Regions from separate parts of the Homo sapiens genome. Here all the other regions are linked to region 1. Evidence: promoter capture Hi-C in 16 types of primary human blood cells and fetal thymus (Javierre and others, 2016). All regions are on one chromosome and are shown on one strand. The core of a region is centred on a gene start or on the middle of the fragment in contact, and the rest is flanking DNA. Distances in the headings are between cores, read along the strand shown.

The links. The method cuts DNA at HindIII sites, captures the fragments that hold promoters and counts their contacts. A CHiCAGO score of 5 or more calls a contact.
Region 2: a fragment that was not itself captured here is called in contact with the fragment with the promoter of NSMAF in region 1 in 2 of 17 cell types (fetal thymus and non-activated CD4 T cells); the score reaches 6.4 in fetal thymus.
Region 3: a fragment that was not itself captured here is called in contact with the fragment with the promoter of NSMAF in region 1 in 1 of 17 cell types (M0 macrophages); the score reaches 9.1 in M0 macrophages.
Region 4: a contact is called between a fragment that was not itself captured here and the fragment with the promoter of NSMAF in region 1, in 2 of 17 cell types (M0 macrophages and activated CD4 T cells). The highest score is 7.3, in M0 macrophages.
Region 5: the fragment with the promoter of BPNT2 here is called in contact with the fragment with the promoter of NSMAF in region 1 in 1 of 17 cell types (naive CD8 T cells); the score reaches 5.8 in naive CD8 T cells.
Region 6: a fragment that was not itself captured here is called in contact with the fragment with the promoter of NSMAF in region 1 in 1 of 17 cell types (naive B cells); the score reaches 6.9 in naive B cells.
Region 7: a contact is called between a fragment that was not itself captured here and the fragment with the promoter of NSMAF in region 1, in 1 of 17 cell types (total B cells). The highest score is 5.8, in total B cells.

The regions. Positions count from the first base shown.
Region 1 is chr8:58,658,238-58,661,629 of GRCh38, forward strand. It overlaps NSMAF (neutral sphingomyelinase activation associated factor), which reads right to left and starts at 1,616. Exons shown (of 31, transcript NM_003580.4): 1 at 1,336-1,616. The coding sequence starts at 1,394. RefSeq lists enhancers at 56-619, 154-443, 620-1,182 and silencers at 894-1,343, 1,354-1,693. The HindIII fragment of the contact is 3,520 bases long and covers 669-3,392 here.
Region 2 is chr8:60,652,412-60,655,803 of GRCh38, forward strand. No RefSeq gene overlaps it. Among named protein-coding and RNA genes, the nearest start is that of CHD7, 25 kb to the right of the region's middle. RefSeq lists a silencer at 1-159 and an enhancer at 1,316-1,515. The HindIII fragment of the contact is 5,465 bases long and covers 1-3,392 here.
Region 3 is chr8:60,522,541-60,525,932 of GRCh38, forward strand. All of the region lies in intron 1 of RAB2A (RAB2A, member RAS oncogene family), which reads left to right. Among named protein-coding and RNA genes, the nearest start is that of RAB2A, 7.2 kb to the left of the region's middle. The HindIII fragment of the contact is 1,965 bases long and covers 505-2,469 here.
Region 4 is chr8:60,504,998-60,508,389 of GRCh38, forward strand. All of the region lies in intron 1 of LOC124901949 (a long non-coding RNA gene), which reads left to right. Among named protein-coding and RNA genes, the nearest start is that of RAB2A, 10 kb to the right of the region's middle. The HindIII fragment of the contact is 799 bases long and covers 1,339-2,137 here.
Region 5 is chr8:56,992,026-56,995,417 of GRCh38, forward strand. It overlaps BPNT2 (3'(2'), 5'-bisphosphate nucleotidase 2), which reads right to left and starts at 1,842. Exons shown (of 5, transcript NM_017813.5): 1 at 1,174-1,842. The coding sequence starts at 1,560. RefSeq lists a silencer at 1,399-1,958. The HindIII fragment of the contact is 2,693 bases long and covers 1-2,199 here.
Region 6 is chr8:60,058,250-60,061,641 of GRCh38, forward strand. All of the region lies in intron 2 of LOC105375861 (a long non-coding RNA gene), which reads left to right. Among named protein-coding and RNA genes, the nearest start is that of CA8, 220 kb to the right of the region's middle. The HindIII fragment of the contact is 473 bases long and covers 1,553-2,025 here.
Region 7 is chr8:59,954,937-59,958,328 of GRCh38, forward strand. No RefSeq gene overlaps it. Among named protein-coding and RNA genes, the nearest start is that of CA8, 320 kb to the right of the region's middle. The HindIII fragment of the contact is 385 bases long and covers 1,478-1,862 here.

The sequences.
Region 1 (3,392 bases), core at 366-2,865:
TGCATTACAAATTCAGTCAGAAGGGCATCCCCAAGTGTGAGTTACATAGTTAGGGCTCAGTTATTTAATAAACAACCCTTTCTGTGACTAAAACCTAATCACATCACCAAAAACATTTTTGAAAGCCATATCTGAGATACGTTTTCTGTGTATCGTATCTTCTTCTCTACAGTAGAAAAATGACATTTCGTACTGTGGACACACTGGTTAGACCAACATTACAGATTAGAGAAAGATGAATGTCTGGATCAAAGGGGTCGAGTCAACCCTTATAAAACAAGTGTAGACAAATCTTGAAGTCTGCACTTGTATTCCCACGTGTAACCTGCTTTGCTGGTATTCACTGATGAGACAACGTGACAGGCTAGCAGCACTGGAAGATCTGTGGCTCTCACAATCAAAACAGTGTGTCTGTAAAATGATTCAGCCCCCCTTTCCTTTTGGCATCTGAGCTGCAGACCGAGCAAGTTGTTTCTGTCACCAAAAATGCCCTGGGAACTATACATAGAGCCGAAGTGAGCTTTCTTATGAGACTTCCCTTGGGGACAGGTCCAGCATATCTGAAAGGGAACTGCTGTGAGACCATTTTAGCTCAAGGGATCCCAAATCCTTACTGGGATGCTGGTGAGAATGAGTGCTCCGCTGCCGCACCGCGATTTCGACTGCAAAGCTTTCCAACACAAGGTCCACTGCGCGGGGAGCAAGTGTTTGGGAGGCAGGACCTTGGCTTTCCTCAGAATCAGGCCTTTCCGGCGGCCCCCCTCCCAGCCTTCCAGGGCATGGAGCTAGTCCTGTGTCTAAAGGAGTCGGCAGGAAAAAGGCGCGGCAATGCGAGTGGGTGGTCGCCGGCCTGCTCGGTGCCGCCCGGCGACCAACTCTGCGGCGCCGGCGCCGAGTGCCTGGACCCGATTAAGGGGAAGGATTAGAAAGGGGGTGCCCGCCGGGCAGCGTACTCACCCTCCCCTGCGAACGCCCGGGCTCGCGTGCCGGGATCCACGCCCGGACCCCGCGCGGCCTTCCGGGTGAGCTGCCCGCGGCCGCCGGGACCTGCACTGCCGGATAGCTCGGCATGCCTCGGCTCCGCGGTGGAATCTGGCCTGGCCCGTCATCCAGTTCCTGTCCCCGGCAGGCTCCGGCCCAGACCAGGCCCCCGGCCTCTCACCCCGACCTCAGGTTTCCGCCACAGCCCCCAGCCCAGGCCCTGGACACGCGTCCGGCCCCTGCCTCCGTGCCCGGCCCCCACGCCGCCTCCCGTCCCTCAGATCTCCGGCCGGCGTCCCCACGACCGGCCCCGACTAGGCCCCCGGCTGGGCCCTTCTTCAGCTGGGCGCGCACCTCTCCTTGGAGTAGAGCTGCAGCTGCTGCTCCTGCTGCTTCTTCCGGATAAACGCCATGGAGGGTAGGCGCGGGCGGGCGCAGAGCGCACAGGCAGGCCCCGCCGCCGCCTGCCGAGGAGGTCCGGAGGAGCCGGGGAGGGCGGGATTGGTGGCCGGCTGGGGAGCGCGCGGCTGCCGGCCTGGCTTCCCCTGCGGCGCCGCTGGGCGGCCGAGAGCCCGACGCGGCGTCCCGGCCGCGCTCACCGCAGCATCCTCGCGTGGGGACTCCGGCGGCACCGTGACTCAGGCCCGGAGGAGGGGCGCGCGGTGACACGAGGCGCCCCAAACTCAGGCCGCCTCAGAGGATCGCCAGGGCCAGCGGCCAGACCAGGATCCGACCTCACACACTAAACGTTTCACCACTTTACCAACCATTGCAGGCTGCGTTTTAAATATTTTACGCATAAAAAGGGATGCTGGCCCATAAACCACCAATCTGTTGGCCACAAAGACTTGAAATAACAACGTTTTGTGTCCTCCATTGTGAAAAAAAAAAAAAGACGGAAGTTAAAGGGGTGAAGGCAACTCAGTCGTAACTATTCCAAATACACCAGGAATAAGTGGAGATTTATAGCCAAGGAGCAAGGAGCAGGTGTTCGGAAAACTGCTAAGAGGAAACATCAATTCTGGGGGAAATTCTGGCTGAACCAACCTAACAGGAGTCCCAGTGAAGGCAGGCCAGGGGGTCAGATACTAAGGGTAGGAGTAAAGAATTTTGATCACATATGGAGGGTGGGGGATTCTTGCTAAACTGCCGTGGCAGTGTTACTTCCTAACACTGCATTTACAAGGAAGTGCACACAAGGACCTGGGAGAAGATTCAGAAGCCTAACTGAAGTTTGGCCAAGCAAAGAATCTTTAACACAGTCTCTTGATTGTTGAGATAATTGCTCGCATGATTTTTTTTTATATAACAGCTTTATTGGGATATAACTCACATACCAAACAAGTCAACCATTTAAAGTATACCATTCAGCGATTTTTAGTATATTTCCAGATATGTTCAACAATCACCACAATTTGAGAACATTTTCATCACATGTAAAAGAAACCCATACCCTCTAGCTGTCACTCTTCCTAACTCTACCCTCCAAACCCCAGCCCTAGCAAACAATAATCAATTTCCTGTCTCTATGGGTTTGCCTATTCTGGATATTTCATATAAATGGAGCCATACAATATGTGGCCTTTTGTGTCTGGCTTCTTTCATTTAGCGTAATGCTTTCAAGGTTCATCTATGTTGTAGCATGTATCTGTACAGTACTTCGTTCCTTTAGATTGCTGGAGCATATTCTGTTGCATTTTGTTTATCCATTCATCAGTTGATGGACATTTCAGTTGTTTCCACATTTTGGCTATTGTGAATAAGGCTGCTGTACACAGTCATGTACAGTTTTTTTATGGACCTATGTTTCCATTTCTGTTGAGTGGAATTGGAATCTAAGAGTGGAATTGCTGGATGTGGAGGCGAAAGCAGCTCCATCTTGGAAGCTAATCCTCCGTGTTGACTTCTGATTGACCCCAGTTCTGGGAAGGCCTCTAAGATTTCTACTTTATCTATTGTTCCTTGTGTAAGAGCAGGTATCTACCCAGTATGTTCTGTCCTTAATTCAAACAACTTGATGTTATTATACTTCAATTGTCCTACACATCCCTTCTGAACCACCCCTCCCCTATGGTATATAAGCCCTAAGGGGCTGGAGTGATGGCTCATGCCGGTAATCCCAATGCTTTTGGAAGTTGAAGCTGGAGGATTCCTTGAAGCCAGGAGTTCGAGACCAGCCTGGGCAACAAAGCAAGACCCTGTCTCTACAAAAAATAAAAAATAAAAATTACCTGGGTACAGTGGCACACACCTATAGTCCCAGCTACTGGAGAGGCTGAGGCAGGAGGATTGCTTGAAGCCAGGAGTTCGAGACCAGCCTGGGCAACAAAGCAAGACCCTGTCTCTACAAAAAATAAAAAATAAAAATTACCTGGGTGCAGTGGCACACACCTATAGTCCCAGCTACTGGA
Region 2 (3,392 bases), core at 557-3,056, 2.0 Mb after region 1:
GGGGAACTTCGTCGGGGGGGAGCGGCGGCTGGCTGTGGGTGTGGAAAAGCGGGCGCGCCAGAGGGGCTGGGAAGGTGGGAGCAGAGGGGCTGGGAAGGTGGGAGCGGAGGCGCTGGCCCCGACTCCTAAGCTGTGCGGAAGTGAAAGGGGCGGGAGCGGCGGGGAAGGGCGCTGGCCGCGCGTGAGAACCGGCGCGGGCGAGCCGGGGGCGGGGAGGCGCCGGGAGCAGGTGGTGCAGCCCGAGGTGTGCGGGAGGGGCTGGCATGTCCTGGAGATGGGAAAAGCGGGGATGGATGTGCTGAGCTAATAAGCGTACTGCCAGAGCTGTCAAGGTTTATTTATGCAGGACAGAGAACTTAGAGAAGTTATTCACTGACTGGTGGACACACGTTCTAAGATTTTCCTCCGTTCGGTTTAAGAGAAAAGTGCTTACATGTTTCTGATGCCTGGTGATATTTATTAAAATTGAAAGTTGGTCACTTGATATTTTATCATAGGGTTGGGAGAAAGAGGAACAAAAGGCATTTATAAAGCAAAAGCCATTTCTGCAATGCACTCTATTAAAAATTTGAGAACGAATGTGTTTCAACAATCGGATGCATTGAATTAATTTGTAGGAGGGTAGAGTGAGGCTTGTATTGGCTGGGAGATTCACTGCCAGGTGGTCATGCATAAGCCCCTACCCCAAGCTCTCATTTTCCCTACCTGCAGAATTAGACCAATGAATACCCCACCTGTCTCACCGCATGTTTTGAGATTCCGCGTGTGTGAGGGAGGGAGGGCTGGAGCGCAGGCCGGTGCCGTCTGGGCCGCCCTCTCTCCCGGGCGTGCTCTGGACCGTCTCGTCCCCTCCGGGCGCGTCATCCTGCTTTCGGAACCCCCGTGTCCTGAAGTCCAGGCATATTTAACTTGGGTGCCACAGAAATCTCAAAATCTAGGTGTTCTCAGCGGAGCTGGGCACCTTCCCTACAAGCCTCGCGTGTTTCCTGTCTCAGCAAAGACAACACTACAATCTGGTCATTATCCCCCTACCCCAATTCACCTAGCCCCGGGATCCGTTTTGCGTCTGCACTTCAGGCCGCCTGGTTGTCGCTGCTGCAGCTCTCATACCTCGGTGCGGGGCGCGGCGTCTCCCACCTGGACCTCCGGCGACCGCTCACCGCTCTCTCCGCCTCCGCCCTTGCCCCTCCCCTGTCTCGACAGCACAGCCAGTCAGATGCTTTATTTTAATGTAAATCTGTTCGTGTCACTCCTGTTTACGATCTTTTATGGGCTCTCTGTTGCTCTCGGGATAAAGTCCTATCTCCTTAAATTCGCTTAATAGGGCCCTCCTAATCCAGTTACCGCTTTCGTCTGCGGCTGGATCTTTTACCTTGGGCCGCTCCTCCAGCCCTTCTTCGCGTTCCGCCTAACCTGGACTGCTTTCACTTCTCTCAACTTGCCGACTCAAGCTGCTGCAGCACTTCTCCGTCTCCTCCCTGCTTCTTTCGTTTCCTGCACCTCCTTCCCCAGCGTGAGCGTTAAGGGCGCCCGTGGAACCCCTTCCTTTGCCGCGCACCGGTAGCCTTGCACTGCCGTGGGCTGCGGTCCGACCTGGGGCGCGTCCCACGCCAGCCCTTTGGAGCATGGGCTGCATTGTTCCGGTTTCCTAGGACGGTCCTGACAATACTGGCAGAGCCCAATAACCCTTTTAGGATACACAGTGATGGGCGCAGAAAACCAAACAAGTAGCCTGAGATCTTTGCTGATTGATTCATTTTATATTGCTGTATTTTTCAGTTTTAAAATTTTCCACTTTATAAGAATAGCATTTTTTTAAATTATATAAATTTAAAACTGATAATGACGTTTTACACCACAAACAATTACAAATCTCTTTTAGCAGAAAGTGTGTGTGGTTTGTGAAATGAAATCAGGAACAGTGGCTCGATGTTCAATGCACATGGGCAGAAATGTTCACTTTAAACTCAGATGCTGAAACTTTAAAACAGCTGAAACTCATGCCCCAATAATCATTAAAGGAAGGACCAGAAGAAAAGAGCAGTAAGCTGGGCTTATTATTAATTTGTAGGCTAGTAATTATCGATAGGTTAAGAAATTGCTTTGTTACTGGCTTTTTTAAAAAAATCCTGGTACTGTTAATATTTCTATTGTTTATATGAGACGTCAGTGTAACAAATTGGAATTCTCATTTTCCCAGTGCTCCCTCCTAGCTAGCAATGATAACATATGTGCCTTTGGATCTGTAGTATTTCTAAACATGGTTCTGCTACACACTTTCCAATAAAGTTAAACAAGAATTCTTTGTTGAGCTATGTAATATTTAGAGGGGAGGATAGGGGAATAAATCTTAACTACTGCGAATTGTTTCCCTTCAGCCTAACTCTGAAGGAGATCCTTGTTGGTTTTTTCATTACTGTACTACTAGGCTGTTTACTTTGTTACACTTTTGTGGAAGGGAGCAGAACTTAGTAAATAATAAAAAATAAAAAATAAGTGGGGAGAGTTTAATAAAATAAGCAAAAAATAAATGAAATATAGAAGTAAAGTAATAATGCACTTTTAGTTAGAAAAATTTGTTTCTATGCTCTGTGCTATAATTAACATAAGCTCTTATGCCGCTCAATTTATCTAATGAAAACAATATTTCAAGCAGAAGAAATAGGCATTATAGTTATTTACTGTTTCTACAGAAAAATATTATTCAAACATGAATCTTATCTGTTTATAGGACCTGTCAAATAGCTATTATAAACAAATGATAAGAGAATAATAAATGCTGGAGAAATGGCTTTTCTTTTGGAGGTAGGCTTGAATAATTTTGAGTTTAGAAAACATTTTAGACACTCTAATTTGGTAAAAGTCCTAAAATTACACTTCACTTACATTCTAGCTAACTGCATTTTTCACTTTTTAAACCTGTTGAAAAATCTTATTTCCAAACTTGATGGAATGGTAAAGGATTTTTTTAAAGTGTTTATAATGAAACATTTTTAATAGCTAGTTTTAAGAGTATATCTATAATGGAAATACAGTACATTTCAGGCTTATTTATAAGCATGCCAAACCTGATTAGGTGACTACTTGAAATAAACATATTTAAAATGAGATCTAAGAGTGCTGTTTGCTGCATTTGTTGGTTTAGCAGAAATTTCCAGTTAATTGGGCATTGAAAAGACACTGCCAGCCTAGTAGAGATAAGCAGATATGATGACTAGAGAAAGGGAGAGTGGAAAGAGGGTGAGATGTGGGACTAAAAGACTGAGGACTAAGTCAGCGAGCTTTATACCTTCTTCGAGTTATGTCTGAGACTTAGTTTCTACATTTACAAATTGGGCAACTATTTGCCATCTTGACCACCTCGCAGTACTGATACAAGTATCAAATGAGAA
Region 3 (3,392 bases), core at 237-2,736, 1.9 Mb after region 1:
ATATCACACATAGTATTGGTGGTTTTACAAAAAGAGTTATTGGGAAGTTACAAGTAGAACCATGCATGGGTTATTTTATTGAAGAATAAATGTGAGTGTGTGTTTGTATTTTAAGATAGGAGAGACTTGAGGTTGAAAGGTTAAATACAAGAGAAGGGGAGGTAAGGAGCAAAGTTGTAGAGGATTTGGGGAAGGATTGGGGAAGGAAGGGGATTAGATTCTCAATAGCTCTAGAGAAAAACAGAAGGAAGACCTCTTCCTGTGGGAGACTCAAATTTGAGTTTCTTTAGATTCTTGTGAATCACTGGAGTGTTTGTTTAAAAAAAAAAATATTCAGCAGCCCAACCCCTAGAGATTTTGATTGACTAGATTTGAGGTGGAGCTGAATGTTGCAAAACCTGCGGCCAGAAGTACTAGTCATTTTATTTTATTATATAAGCAGATTTGTTAGAATTACCTTCAAAAAACAACCTGGGAAGTTCAGAGGTAGAAAAATTCTATTAAAGCTTTTTTATTGAGATGTAGCATGCATATAAAAGAATATATAAAATACATATACACAGTTTAATAGTTTTAAAGAATAATGATAAACACCCATGCAAAAGGACTCCACATTCTTTTTCTTTTTTTTTTTTTCTTGAGACAGTCTCGCTGTCACCCAGGCTGGAGTGCAGTGGCGCAATCTCAGCTCACTGCAACTTCTGCCTCCTGGATTCACGCCATTCTCCTGCCTCAGCCTCCCGAATAGCTGGGACTACAGGCGCCCGCCACCACGCCCGGCTAATTTTTTGTATTTTTAGTGAAGACGGGCTTTCACTGTGTTAGCCAGGATTGTCTTGATCTCCTGACCTCGTGATCCGCCCGCCTCTGCCTCCCAAAATGCTGGGATTACAGGCATGAGCCACCACGCCCGGCCAAGGACTCCACATTCTTACATATGTCTCTTTCTCAACCAGTTTTCCACTGGCCTGAATTTTATATTAATCCTCCCCTGCTTTTCTTCATAGTTGTATCACTTATGGATTCCTAAACTGTATTATTTAGTTTTGCCCATTTTTAGATGTGCTTAGCTGTTTCATTTATCAAATGAGAGCTGAAACATATCTTTTAACATCATTTACAATTTAGATGATATACTTTTGTTAACCTTCATTTTTTTTTTTTTTTTTGAGACAAGTCTCGCTTTGTCGCCCAGGCTAGAGTGCAGTGGCGCGATCTCGGCTCACTGCAAGCTCCGTCTCCCGGGTTCACACCATTCTCCTGCCTCAGCCTCCCAAGTAGCTGGGACTACAGGCGCCCATGACCATGCCTGGCTAATTTTTTGTGTTTTTAGTAGAGACGGGGTTTCACCATGTTAGCCAGGATAGTCTCGATCTCCTGACCTCGTGATCCGCCTGCCTCGGCCTCCAAATTTTTGCTTTATATATATTATTGGTAGTCTTTCAGGATTTTTGACTAGCTCTTTTCTGTCTGTTTTCTAACCCAGTTTATTTACTACTTCCTCCCCCTAATATTTATACCGTGCCTGAGACTTTATAGTGAATCATAGAGGCTATTGTCCCTGTTGTTCTCATTCCTTTTTACCTTTCTTAAACTCCTCTGGTGACTCTCCCTACTCATCTTCTCAATTGGTGTTCTGTCCTTTCTGTCCCATGCCATTCCTGTCCAGCATGAAAGTTTCTCTTTTATCTCCCCAACTGCTTCCCTCCTTCATTTTAATTCTTCAGCTCTCCTCCTCTTGCAGTAGCCAGTCAGTTTGATGTTTTATTTGAGCAGACCCTAATTTTGCCATCTCAGCTGTTTTTCCCTTTCCTTCTGGCCCAGCTGTGCTTACTTCATTTGTTATTCTCTGCTCACTTTAGTCTATGAGGCTGTGTCCTTTGCTACAAAAGATGCAGCCATATGCAGACCTCTCTTGTCCCTCTCCTAACTTTACATTTTCTAAAAGAAACTGTCCCATTTGATTTCATTAGCCTTGATTATTTGCAAGTTTTAAAATACTCTAGTTTTAGCTGTTACTTTTCACTTGTAAGTAAGAGATCCCTGGCAAAAAGGTTCTAGATTCTCTCTCCTGTAATGCACACATAGTAGCCCCCTTTTAATTTCTGCAGTGTTTCTTAACTCAAACTATTAATATTTGGTTCTCATCCATGGAAATGCTGTTTTAGTCACTCTCCGGGGAGTCCCAGACATCAGTATTTTTAAAAAGTATTGTTTGTATTGATGGTAGTACTGTAACATTCCACTGCTGGTAAGCCATGGGCCTTTTTTGCTTATTTTTCTAAAATTGATTCTTCTTTTTCTGCTGCCAAGTTTTCTGCTTTGGGGGATTTTATTTAATCCCTAAGGTGTAGCCAGACTGAATTTGTATGGAATTCTCCATCACATTAGCTTTTGGCATTGTGGTCTGTATAGCAGATTCTCATGAGTAATCCTCCACACTTTTTATAGTTCCTACACCATATCAAAAGCTTATTATCTGTTAATTCTTCAACAGATACATGAGATTACTGTTTTACAGATGGAGAAACTGAGTTGTGTCATTTGGGGCAAATTATCTTAGTAGATGGTTGATCTGGTTTGGCTCTGTGTCCCACTCGAATCTCATCTCAAATTTTAATTTCTGTAGTCCCCACGTGTTGAGGGAGGGATCCCATGGAAGGTGATTGGATCATGGGGTCAGTTTCCCCCATGCTGATCTGGTGATAGTGAGTGCTCATGAGATCTGATGGTTTTATAAGTGTTTGACAGTTCCTCATTCATACTCTGTTTTTCTCCTGCCGCCACGTAATATGTGCCTGCTTCCCCTTCTGCCATGATTATAAGTTTTCTGAGGCCTCCCCAGCCATGCAGAACTGTGAGTCAATTAAGCCTCTTTATAAATTACCCAGTCTCGGGTAGTATCTTTATAGCAGTGTGAAAACGAACGAATACAGTGGTAGAACAAAGATCTAGGGGTGTCTGACTCCACGGGCCATTCTCTTGATTACAGGGTGGTCTGGCTCCATTCCCCTTTGCTCTTTCTTTCCCCATATCTTCTGAGTTTTTACTTTTCATAGCCATAATGTAGCTTTAGGTTTCTCCCAGTTCTCACTTTAAAATATTCTCATTTTCAGGTATAGCTGAGAGTCACTGTGTTTTTAGCCAAATCTAAGGGAGAAAATGAATATTGATAGCAGCATGCTGTAGCCAGCTCCTTAAAGGAAGGATGGTGCCTGGTACAGAGTTAGAGTTAGTGCTTCAGTAAATAATGAATGTGTGCTAGGTAGGTTCTGCTGGGTAGGCTGCATGCATTGACCAATTTATTCCTCCTTGTTTCAAAACAGGATTTAAGGGCACTTATATATATATATTTTTTAGTTTTTTTAATGTAAATGAGAGAATAAAGATAT
Region 4 (3,392 bases), core at 488-2,987, 1.8 Mb after region 1:
TTTATTATTCATCTTTATTGCTTTCATTGCACATGCTGTTAACTTCTTATGAACTCTTTGTTCTAATAAATAAGCATATCCAGGTTTTTCATAAATAAATGAGGAGTCTATAAATTCTTACTAGTTTTAATAGAAACATTGCCACTAAAATGGTGTATTCTAGCTGTGTGAGCTTTTGGAAAATGTTTTCATTTCCTTTATGTTTGAATGTTCCTTCCAGGTCTTTGAAAATATACATTCTGAGTTGAAAAGCTTTATAATAGGTAAAACTCATTAACCCATATACTTTCCATGCTGGGCACAGCAGGTGTGGTAGGTAGAAATATAAGATGACTCCCAAGATTTTTGCACCCTGGCATACACATATGCTTTTCCAGTTGTTGAAACACTAATTTAGGTGCTGCTGTGAAGGGATTTTGTAGATGTGAATAATGTTCCAAATCAGTTGGCCTTAAGATAGAAAGATGATCCTGGATGGGCCAGATCTTATCAGTTGAGTCCTTAAAGGGAACAGCACCCTTCCTGACAAAGAGATTCAAAGCATGAAGGATTAAAAATGAGAGAGATTCTCTATTGCCAGCTCTGGAAATAGAGTAGGTCACGTGGTAAGTCGTTCAAGTGGCCTCTAGTTGCTGAGAGCAGCTCCCAGGTAAGAGCCAACAAGGAAATAATGACTACAAGGAGATGAATCTGGCCACACTATGTAAGCTTGGAAAGGAACTCTGAATGCCAGATGAGGATGCAACCAAGCCAACACCTTGAGTTTAGCCTTATGAGATCCTGAGTCGAGAATCCAGTGAGACGATGCCCAGATTTACCACAACCCTAGAGGCTAAAGACAATACCCCCTAATTATCTCACAATGCTGTATTGTCTTTAGTCTCTAAGGTTATTTAGTAATTTAGTAATAAAAAGCAAATCCAGTAGGACCATGCTAAATTAAGATACAACCTCTATATCATATGATGCAGTGTGAATCAGCACAGTAGAGATTGCAGTGTCTCTGGAAGCCATTTCTATACTGGACAATTCTTTGCAATAATTCAACTACACGTGCAAGTGATCAAATTAATATATCTTACAAAACTAAGTGTATCTTCAACAATACTCTTCCTTAACCAGTACCAAAAAAAAAGATCTGTGAATATTCTCTAACACCTCTCAACACAAGGGCAAGTGTCACAGATGGAAGTGAAGACTAAAGAGAGACAATAGAATTCACTGATTAAGGTTTAAATATCTTACTTTAGCAACTTTTTATTTGCAAAAATAGAAAACTGATCATGTGAACACATTTGCATTAAAAGATGTTTCTGCAAATTAGGGGCCCTGAAATTAAGCTTCATTAGGTTCATGGTAAGTCTACCTCTCTCTTTATCTATAGCACTTGGCAAAGGGCCTGGCATCTGAATGACAGGTCTCAAATGTTCTTTTTCATATGATTACATTAAATAAATCATTAAATTGTTATTTACTTAAATAACTTTAAAATTTTCTTGAGTGAATTAACACTACTTGAAGGATCCCTGTAAACTGAGTCCACTTTCAATTTCCTATCTACTGGGTCACTTATAACAAACCATGTTACACGTATACTTCCTCATCTCTGCTTGTTTCCAAGAAAGGAAAGGTAAGTAATTTAGTTTTTGTATTTCAATTAGTAATTCAATAACCTGTCTGTTTTTTGTTTTTTTAAAGCAAAATAGCTTATCTCAGAGTTCAGATCAGACAATCTCACCACTGGTGTTTGGATTCAGTGTCTTTTGAGGTAAAGTGAAAGAAGAACCTTTCAGAAATGCATGCAGTTAATTCAAGGAGAGGAAGAAGGATCTAGTTCTAAAGAGGTTTTTGTCTATAATTGATTTTTCTAAAGGAAAAATCAACAAAAAGTATAGTGTGTCAATGCTGAATACTCTGCTCTTTCAAACGGACACTTTCGTATTATAATTTGTATCAGATACAGTATCAAGAAAATTAAAATACCCATATACTAAGAGCAAAAAATGTTCTTCAGTAAGTCTGGTAATGAAAACTTCAAGATAAGATTTCAAAATTACATAAGGCTGCAGTTCTTCTAATAAAGATTACTAAACTGTAGTATCAGAAAAGGTACTTTTGGGGAATCAAATGATAGTGAAGCTTCCCTCCTGGTTTGTACCTTAAACTTGCTTGGCTAATGGCAGTACTTTCACCACCCCCATTTAGTGTAACTTTTGTTAAACTTAACTTAAAATGCAAAATGATGCATAATATACAATGTTATTCATAATGATAATAGCTGCTGTAGTATTTGGATATAAGAGTTTTCACAGGCAGGAAAACATTCAGTTTCTAAAAAATGATTCAAAGTTCATGAAAAAGTATAAATAAACGGTTTACTCTGTTGTTCACGTAAATCCCTAAGGACGTGGAATGGAAACAAACAGCAAGTATTCTTAAAAAAAAAAAAATCCTTTTTAGGATCTACTTTGTCATTGTATTCTAGCCTTAAAACAATTGCTTTGCATATAACTTTTTTTAAAACTGAAAAAATATGCTTGATCTTCCTTTTCTGACTACACAATTATTTTTTTCTTTTTTTAATCAAAAACTCACTGCTTGCTAATGACCATACAATTATTGTTGTTGTTGTTGTTTAGAGACAGGGTCTCACTCTGTCACCCCAGCTACAATGCAGTGACACAATCATAGCTCACTGTAGCCTCAAACCCCTGGGCTCAAGTGATCCTTCCAAGTAGCTAAGGCTGCATGCCACCATGCCTGGCTAATTTATTTTTATTTTTTTTATAGATGGGGTCTTGCTATGTTGCTCAGGCTGGTCTGGGATTCCTGGCCTCCAGCAGTCCTCCTGTGTAGCTGGGATTACAGACTTGAGCCACAGCACTGGCCTAAAATAATTATTTGTCAGTTCCTTATTTAAAATATTCTTAGCAGGCCGGGCACAGTGGCTCACACCTGTAATCCCAGCACTTTGGGAGTCTGAGGCAGGCAGACCACTTGAGGTCAGGAGTTTGAGACCAGCCTGGCCAACATGGTGACAACCCACCTCTACTAAAAAGACAAAAAGATTAGCCAGGCGTAGTGGCACTTGCCTGTAATTCCAGCTACTCGGGAGGCTGAGGCAGAATCGCTTGAACCTGGGAGGCAGAGGTTACAGTGAGCCAAGATTGCACCACTGCACTCCAGACTGAGTGACAGAGTGAGACTCCATCTCAAAAATAAAATAAAATAAAATAAAATATTTCTAGCAGTATATAAAACCAAAACCACAACAAACTTCTTTATAGGCTAATCCATTTATAACAAAATTGTATGCAGATAGATCACATGAACATGATTTGACTCAAAATGGATCTGACTTCAGATGATATTTATTAGATGTCTGTTTTTAT
Region 5 (3,392 bases), core at 592-3,091, 1.7 Mb before region 1:
ATGTTCCTTTCCACTGGAAAAAGAAAAAGACGAAAGAAAAGGGAGGAAGAGAGGAGAATAAAAAACAAAACCAAAGCAATATTATGATAGACTGGAAGAAGCCTTATGCAAAATACATAACTAAACAATGACAATATTCTCCTAACTCTTTCAAGATCAGCAGTAAAAGGTCAGTCACCTTCCAAAGAAGCCTGGGTTTGCACATCACTGTTTATCTAATAAAATTCCAGTGAAGACAATTTTTCTTCCCAGTAGCCAAAACTACAGTTAGGTGAGTTAAGATATACGTTAATAAGGTGCTGCTACGCTATGCTGAGCTCTTCCTCAACAAAATTTGCAGTTTCTGGAACTGCAAATTTTAAATATGCTTTATTCAACTCAATAGCAGCTCCAGTGAAATGATGAATTCAAAAAGTATTAATAACAAATCCAAAATGTCTGGATTTCCTTAAGAAAATGTCAACTCCCTTCCCAGAAACCTACCCAAAGAAAAGCCAAATGTTATTTAATTCTTATTCTCTGGAGTAAATATGGATCTTTAATCAAGGGCCAGGTAGGACCAACAGCTGGTATATTTCTAAGTACCTCCTTAAAGGGCCCGCAAACTATAAACTTTAGAGCGTCCTGACAAAAAGACAGCGAAATGAGCATACTCATCCCCCACCCCCCCACCCCGACTCCCGCGAGCGCACACACGCACACACAAATGCCCCGCACACTAACAGCTCTGCAACAAGACTCGGTCTTTCAGCTGGCTACTGGCAGGCCACCCAGAAAATGTGTACTCCAGTTTCGACCCTTCTAGGGATGAAATCAAGGAAGGATAGAGAGTCTTGGTGGATTTTAGCCAACCCCTTAATTCTACAGAGGAGCCTGAAGCTGCGGGTGCAATTAACTTTGTCAGCCTTTTCGTTTCAAGGCCTTCTGATCCCAGGTACACACGGCGCACACCCGACCCAGGACGAGCCAAAAGGGCACGGGCCCTGAGTCAGACTACGTGCAACCTCACCCAGCTCCTCTGCTGTCTGTCTGACCTTGTGCACGTTAACTTCTGCGTCTCAATTTCCACATCTACAAAATGGAACCAGAAGCTCCACATCCCATACTGTTAAGAGTCGACGGGCCGAGACGCGCTACCCGGCTCGAGTGGGCGCTCCGCCCGTGGGCTCCCACCTGGACGCTGGGGAAGGCGGTCTTGAGCAGGTAGAACATCTTGCGGTTGGACAGCACGTCGCCGCTGGTCATCTTGTCCTCGGCTCCCTCGCGCGTCTTCCCCTTGGACTTCTCGTGGAGGACGTTGCTCTCGCGGACGCGCCTCACCTCGTCGCCGCCGCGGACTGCGGCCAGCACTGACACAGCCAGCATCTCGCGCAAGTCCACGGTGCCCCCATCGGCCGCGGCCGCGGGCCCCGCCGCGCCGCCGCCAGGCTCGCCGCCCAGGCCGAAGAGGCTGAAGCGGCCGGCCAAGAAGCCCGAGTAGAGGTGGTAGAGCACGCCGAGCCCCAGCAGGCAAAACACTGCCACCCCCAGTGGGGAAAGGCGGATGCCCATGGGGGCCATGGCGTGGGAAGCCGGGCGCTCCGGGCTGCGGCTCTCACAGGCCTCCAGCGCCCGCCGCCGCCGCCGCCGCAGCCGCCGCGCTCCGGGCCAGGCGCCGCGCGGGCTACACTGGCGCCCGCTCCCCGGCCCCGGTGCGCCCCATCACTCCCTCCCAGGAAAGGCCGAGTTGCGCCGCGAAGACCACCAACGCCGCCCCGCGCGCCTGACTCGCCAGGCAGCGCGCTCTAGGTTCTTCCGCCGGCCGGCTGGTCCGACTTCCACGTTAGCCTACGGCCGCGAGGTGAAAGGGGAGCGTGGGTGTGTATCCGGGTTACGCGACGGGGCGGGGCGAGGGCGAGGGCGAGGGGCGGGGAGAGCTGGGCACCTCCCCTTGGGGCGGGGCGGGGCGGGACAGGAGGCGCTGGACTGAGCTGCCTTCCTTGGTCTGGGTGGGAAGGTATTCCTGGAAGTGGCGAGCAGCAATCCGCACAGGACAGTGTGCTGTGCTGAGTGCCTTGTGGGTGTTTAAATTAAATATCCCATTGTACGACTATGGCTGGCTGTAATAAACCCACAGTAACAGTCTAGTCTTCTCATCACTCTCAGATTATTGAGGAATGGAGGAAAACACAATAAACCATTTTAAAAGATTGATTTGCAAGCTTTTTTAGCCAGCGGGGGTGTAGACAGCCTGTACCTTTAAGTCGCTTCTCCGCGCTCTTCCCGGCAGGACGGGGAACTGGGCGGTGAGGGGAAGAATTGTACTTGGCTCTTCATTCTGTTGACATCTTTGTCGTGCCCTAAATGCTTATGTGTGTATAGAGTTTCTCTCCTCCACCTGCCAGAATAAACCATCCTCGAAGCAGCTGAAAAACATGCCTTGATCCGGGTTTTTCATAATGAAAGAAAGCAAACCAGGCTTCTCTCATTTCCAAGGGTACTCGAGCCTGGCTCTCCTACCAGAGCTTAAGAAGAGGAATTGCTTGACAGAGTCCACTTAAAATAGAGGTTATCCGGAGATGGTCAGTCTAGAACATGTAATCTTTGAGTCAGCGTAGGCTCTCGAAGTATTTTGACAGAAATAACTACCTTCTACTATAACACCGATCTTAGCTAGAATGATAGTGAATACTTTATAAGTATTCATGAGTTTATCTTTAATCTTAAAAGTGAATATTAAGATGTATAGTATTGTTCTTAAATGTTAAAATATCTATATAAATCAACTTAAAATGTAGCCTGTTTTACTGTTCATAGCAAAACAGCATTGGTTTTAAGTGGACTTTAGAATTAACCACCTGAAAAACTGCAAGTATACCAAACTTCTAAACATCCATTGCTAAGCAAGTCATGTAGAGCCTGACCTTTACCGCTTACTTAGAGTTCAGGGCATCCCTAGAATTTGCATGTGATTATACACATACAACAAAAGCACTGCCAGATTATACACATACAACAAAAGCACTGTGATTTCCCTGCCAGAATCACAGCACAAAATCAAGTACAAATACAAATCAGTGAAAGAACAATCCCTAGAGTATTGACAGCACCAGAACTTAAAGAACTAGCATTGCCTTTCTTGTCAGCTTTTGAGAGTAACTTTGCAATGAAGCAAAGCTGCTTTCAAATATCTAAAAGTGAATGTCACAGAGTAATTCTCAAAACCCATCCCAGGGATAAAGATAAACATCAGGGTTGAAATATAAAGGTTTAAGTTAAACAGAACCACCCCAACCTACACTATGACAGCAGCAAAAAGATGAGTTGGATAGTAATCATGTCAATATTAAAAGCATCATTGGGAAGTCTGAGATTTCTCAAAATAAACGGAATAATATTTTCCAAGGATATTG
Region 6 (3,392 bases), core at 539-3,038, 1.4 Mb after region 1:
GGCTATGCTAGAAGGGTACCATTTGAAAAGGAAGTGTATGACCCACCGTGAAATGGAACTGGTAGCTGGTCACCCAGGTGCTCTTCCTTGTTAACTGATGAGAGCGATTATTATGTGAGAACTTTAACAACCTGCCAAAGGATCCCGGGGCAAGAATGAGAGCTGAACCATTGAAAAGCTGAGCATCGAAGTGCCTGGGAAGCCCAAAACTCAGCACATTCATGCTTTTGCTGGTTTTTGACCATTGAGAAGAAAAAAGAGTCAGCAACCAGGGAGCAGGTAAAGATGGTACCGTTTAATCCCCAGTTCCCCATTCAGTCCTGGTCCCTCCAGAAGCTACCCTGTCCCCAGGCCTCAGTGTGTTTGCCTTCCTCCTCTGGGAGGGGTTAGCACAATTCAAAAGGGCAAATTTTGTAGAAGAGTATGAAATGAGAGCAACTTTTTTTATTGCTGCCCCACACTGCCCTCTGAAGACCCTGTCCTCTGGTTTTGCACACACCAGACCAATGGTCCCAGGCTAAGGTGGCTGTTGATGAGGCTGTAATCTGGACTGAGGCTAAGGGAGAGGGGGTGGTGTGAGAAGGGGAAGAATGGCTCATAATGAAAAGAAGGGAGAAAGTAATTTAAGGAGCAGAGTGGTTACTCTTCAATAGTATAACGATGGATTTTTCCATATTAACCAAATGAAGTGCTAACACCACAATTAAGAGCAAAATCATTGCAAAGTCATCTTCTAGGGACAGGCTACCTCAAGGGCTGTAGGTAAAATTGGATAATGCTTATATTAACATTATCCTTTTCTTTGCATTCAAACTTTGTCCCAGGATATTCCATAGAAAAGATAAGTAGGTGTGCATTTTTTTCCCTAATATTTCCTAAGGAAAGCAAAGATGTTTTACTGAATTCCAGTGTCTGGGGAGATCTGCCTTCCCACGATGTCGTGAGTGGTTGTGTAGAAGAAGATGGTTTCTTTTACCAAAGAGTTCTCCTTCGACCTGGCTAGGAGTTTATTTTTTACTTTGTATGGAAATTCTACAGGGAGCCTAATAGCACAGAATGGAGCCCCAGTATCATTTGTAATATTCAACTGCAACATGGATTTTATTTTATGCCTCCTTCTAAATAAGTCTTTTCTAAATATATTTTTGAGGACTGACGGCACATAAAAGGGAGCTATTAAGGAGAACCATGGGGTGTCTGTGATGGGAAGGACTGATTATCCCTGACAGCCTCCAACTTTGAATTCCTGGAAAGGCAAACCACGAATATTTCAGTGAGCCAAGCATGCAGATACATTTAATGCCACATTGCCCTTCTACCCTTTTCCTCCTCTTTTCCTCTCCCTGGTTTCCCAGCCTCTTCTAAAATGGTGTGTTTATTATGAAGTGTTCTTGGAAGTTTTCTTATGTCATCTGAATCAATATAATATCAGACCTATCAAGATCTATTTTTAAAGGTAAGCTTGTTTGGTCCTCTAGCGGCCTCCTAATTAGAACGCACTATATTTATGTATATGCTTCTTTGCATTGCATTAACAGGATACTCTGGGAAAAGCTTCATGCTTTCAAAACACTGAATTTCAGGGAGGTCCTCGGCAAAATCATGAAACGAATTTGAATCTTACCCTTCGTTCAGGTTTCAGTCTGTGACCTTGGACCCAGATTCCATGAATAGAACATTGTCCTCGCAGGGCAGAGGCTCAATAACTGGACATTTTCTGGGTCCCTGAATTTGTACAATGAGATATCAACTCCAATCTGTGAGCACAATGCTCCAGTGACTGCCAGGAATGGCTGCAATATTGATGCCTTTCAATGTAGATCACATCATTCACCGAGCAGAGCTCAATAAAATGATACTGTAGTTAACAAGTTTTATAACACAAAGTTACTTTAAAACATGGAACTAATCAGAGAGAAGCCTGTTTATGCGTGTCAGAGCCACATTTAATTGTCAATAAATAAACAAAGATTTGCTTCACCTATTGTCATGTATATCAAGTAAGTCATTAATCTAAACTAATGAAGCTTAAGATATATGACAGACAGTTTTTATGGAGCGCCTTCTTAATGATATGTTTGCTTTTCATTTCAATGCCAAGAGAGCCCATTATCAAGAAAGCAGCACATTATGGTCCAAACACATTGAAATCTACAGCACTACTCTTTGTTCGGAGTTCACAATAAGCCGCACTTGCACTTACATATTCATGTACCCTCTGAGATGAAAAGCGTTAGTTAGAAATGAATACGGGTGGGGTGGGGGGAGCAGGGACAATGCATCCAAGGCTTCTGCTCTGTTAAGAGGTTTCCCCCCGCTTTGGATTTTTAAGCTCACCTGGAAAGAAAAAGGAGACTAAATCCAGCCCAATTCATGCCCACATCAATTTTGAAAAATGTGAGTGAATATGTATCATAAACACAGTGAGTCCTAATCATTAAAGAACATCCTGAATCTCTGAAGAACACAAACCCAGGATGCCAAGCTGCAAACAAATAACTACTAGATAATAGAAGCAAGTATTCTACAATTATTTTAATGGGCATGTTAGTTCTCAAGCTTCCATGGTTTTCAAAGAGAAAGTAATTATTTCTTACTCTGCTTCTATTTTGGAAGAGAATAATGTGGACAAGTTAACATCTATCAAACCATAATGATTCCCAACCTGGTGACATGAAAAACTCAGATTAGCTGACCCTTTGGGCTAATGCCACCAAGAGATTCTGCTGCAGGCGCCAAAGACCAAATGAAAGATTCAGTCATGTTGCAGTTTTATTTACTTAAATCTGGAGAAATATGCCTAGCGTCGAACCAGATTACAAGAGGATACAATACATCTATGTGTAGAGCAGGGCAAAAGACTGATTGAATATGGTCAGGGATCTTGGCTATCTTGTTCATCAATGCATTTCCAGAACCTTCCACAGTCCCTGGCTCGTTGTGGGCACATGGTGAATATTTGCTAAGTCTGTGGGAAAAAATCTATGATATAAGGAACAGAAGGATTTTAAAAAGCTTTCCTAGAAATATCCTGCTCTTTTTTCTCTTCCCATTCTGCTACTTACTTCAGTATAAACCGGAAGTAAGCTCTCCACTGTCAAATGTTTTCTCAGTCTGGGCCCTTCTGAAGTTTTAAGTCCATTCCTTCTTGACTTCCCTACTTGCTCAAACCAAAGCAAAATCCAATTCATTCCTTCAAGAGAAAGTCACGGAGCATACAACAAATCACATGGAGATGTGGGCTCTTATAGAGCTCAGGGTCCATATCTGGTTAATTGCAAAACCTTGTAACCAGCACTTTAGTGAGCAAAGTCCAAAATGCCACAGGAGCACAGATTGGAAGGTTCCAGGGCACATGTCATATGAACTCAGCCCAGAAGGGTGACCCAGCT
Region 7 (3,392 bases), core at 420-2,919, 1.3 Mb after region 1:
TCTCCAGAACTGCAAGACAATAAATTTATGTTGCTTTAAGCCCCTAAATTAGTGACTTTTGTTACAGCAGCAATGAGAAACTAATACACTTTATGAATACTTGTTAGCTTCACAGCCAATGAGTTTGCCTCTAGTTAAAAAGTTAAACACTGGTTGTGCGGTGATTCCTCAAGGATCTAAAACTAGAAATACCATTTGACCCAGCAATCCCATTACTGGGTATATATCCAAAGGATTAAAAATCATGCTATTATAAGGATACATGCACATGTATGTTAATTGGGGCAGTATTCACAATAGCAAAGACTTGGAACCAACCCAAATGCCCATCAATGATAGACTGGATTAAGAAAATGTGGCACATATACACCATGGAATACTATGCAGCCATAAAAAATGATGAGTTCATGTCCTTTGTAGGGACATGGATGAAATTGGAAATCATCATTCTCAGTAAACTATCACAAGAACAAAAAACCAAACACCGCATATTCTCACTCATAGGTGGGAATTGAACAATGAGAACACATGGACACAGGAAGGGGAACATCACACTCTGGGGACAGTTGTGGGGTGGGGGGAGGGGGGAGGGATAGCATGAGGAGATATACCTAATGCTAAATGACGAGTTAAAGGGTGCAGCACACCAGCATGGCACATGTATACATATGTAACTAACCTGCACATTGTGCACATGTATCCTAAAACTTAAAGTATAATAATAATTTAAAAAAAAAGAAAATGAGGCACATATACACCATGGAACACTATGCAGCCATAAAAAAGGATGAGTTCATGTCCTTTGCAGGGACACGGTTGAAGCTGGAAACCATCATTCTCAGCAAACTATCACAAGGGCAGAAAACCAAACATCACATGTTCTCACTCATAGGTGGGAATTGAACAATGAGAACACATGGACACAGGGCGAGAAATATCACACACTGGGGCCTGTCGGAGGGTGGGGGTTTGGGGGAGGGATAGCATTAGGAGAAATACCTAATGTAAATGATGAGTTGATGGGTGCAGCAAACCAACAGGGCACATGTATACCTATGTAACAAACCTGCACGTTGTGCACATGTACCCTAGAACGTAAAGTAAAATTAAAAAAAAAAAAGTTAAGCACTGATTTTGTCTGTTTTGCATGTTTTATTTATAAGAGATAGTCTAAGTTATTTCCAAACTAAGTGATTGCAAAAGGTGTGGTGTATGCATACAAATGGTTTGATTAATCATTAATAAATTCATAAAGGCATCTAGAAAGAAATGTAAAGGTGGGAATGCCCATCTTTGGAGACTGTTGTCTGATAACAAAATATAGGAGCAAAGGCTCAAGCAATATGTGATATGGTTCCAAGTAAAAATGTGAAAATGGTTTTCTTTTCCGCAGAAATGCTCCTGTCATCTTGATAAACACATTCTGGACTATAAGGGACTGATCTGCTTAATGAATAGATATTAGCTATCTACTAGAAGCTTAAATAGCACCACTTTGGGAGAGTGCTATAAAGCAAACAACAGCAAAAAAATTTTCTGAAATAAAATCTTTAGTGGTAAACAGAAATAAAATAATTGATTTAATGAGTTATGCATATTATAACGATAAATATGTAGTAAGTATTTTAATGTATTTGTGGGATTAATTAATACTTGCATCATTAATACTAATGCTAATACATTAATACTAATAAGATTTCCAGTTATTTATTTTTTCTTCTTGTTTGGAAACTCTCATTGTCCATCAGTTGTCACTAAATCAAGCCTCTGTTACTCCAGCCTGAGATGAAGTGATCACAGTTACTCATCTCCAGAAGTTTATAATTTTCTAGGAACACAGAAAAAAAAAATCATCTTTTTTAAGCTTACAGAGAAATCAACAGTGAATAAAAGTATTTAAACTTAGCATTTATTAAAGAAATGTAAATTTTAAATAATGAAAACTGTCATCTACCACCTTGACACTTGAGGAGTCTGTCCTCCTTGGGGAGGTCATGGAGGCTTTCATAGCAGAAGCTGTGCTAAGCTAGGTCTTCAATGGTGAATTGAAAAGGCCAAATGGAGAGGACGTAGAGGTCATTCTAGGCAAAAATATAGAAGGAAAAATGGCACAAAGGCATGGGGGAGTACAGAATGTTCAAGGAACTGAAAGGTTAGTACTAGAAGAGTTTAAAAGATGAGAAGAGAATCCGAAGAACTGAGGTAAGAGTTACAGGAGACATCAGATCCAAAATGGCTTGGAATGACATTCCATGGAGGATAGATTTTATCCTGCTGCCCAGAGAAAGGAATTTTAAGAAGAGAAATCAAATGACTGTCTTTGAAACAAACTTATTGTTGGCGATGTGGAAAATAGATTGAAGGGAAGAAAAAACAATTATACATGAGGGTGCTTCGAAGACCATTGTAACAGCCAGGATGAGATGAGATAGGACAAATATCTGCCCCAGGAGCTCCTCAGATTCACTCAGAGCATGAAAGGAAGAGATGGAACCAATATAGTAGGGAGGGGTAAAATCTCTTTGACTGGGTTATCGATTAACAGAGAAGGAGGAATTGGGGATGATGCTGAGAACTCCTAGTTAAATAACTGGAAGAACTGTGTTATTCACATTAAGGACGAGGGAAAGCATATTTGGGAGAAGTGCTATTTCTGCATCGTCCTTGTTGAGAATGCAGTGAGCGTGAGGCAAATAATTACAATTGTCCAAAGTGCTGTTGAGTACAGGAAACTCAAGCTCAGGTAAGAAATCTTGTTCAGAAATAGACTTGAGCCATCGGCATACATATGGGTGGTATTTGAAAGTGTGGGACTAAATGATATCACCTAGGAAGAGCAAACTGGAGCATTTTAAAGGTAATTTTGAAATAGCTGCTATGAGGACTTAGAAATGAAGATGTTTAGCAATTAATAAAAAAGATTATTCCAAGTGCCACGTTTTCTTCTTGTATATAACCTGTAAGTTTCTAGCTAAAAATTAGCCCTCTCCTTCAGGTGATGCTAAATTTGGTTGATTCAAACTGCTGATTAGTTCACTAAGAGGAAACTTATTTATAAGCTATTCATCAAGTGTGGTGGGTTTTACATCTTTTAAGCCTATTGATTTGACGACACATAAATGGAGCTGTGCTTCTCTTCTCTAAAATGTTTTCTGGTCATTATGTATTTATTTCATTGATTCTATTTTTAATACTATAAATCATTTTTATATCTGGAACTTCTCTAAATTCTTCACATTTTTTTGTCTTCTGAACTTCTGAATGTGACCGTCTACTGAAGTAAGGTAAATGTGTAGTTTTATCTATGTATGTAAAATACAATTTTATACATTTTATTAATAAATTCTATTTTTAGTTTTATTTTTCAGTGTCATCCTTATACAAAACCTCCT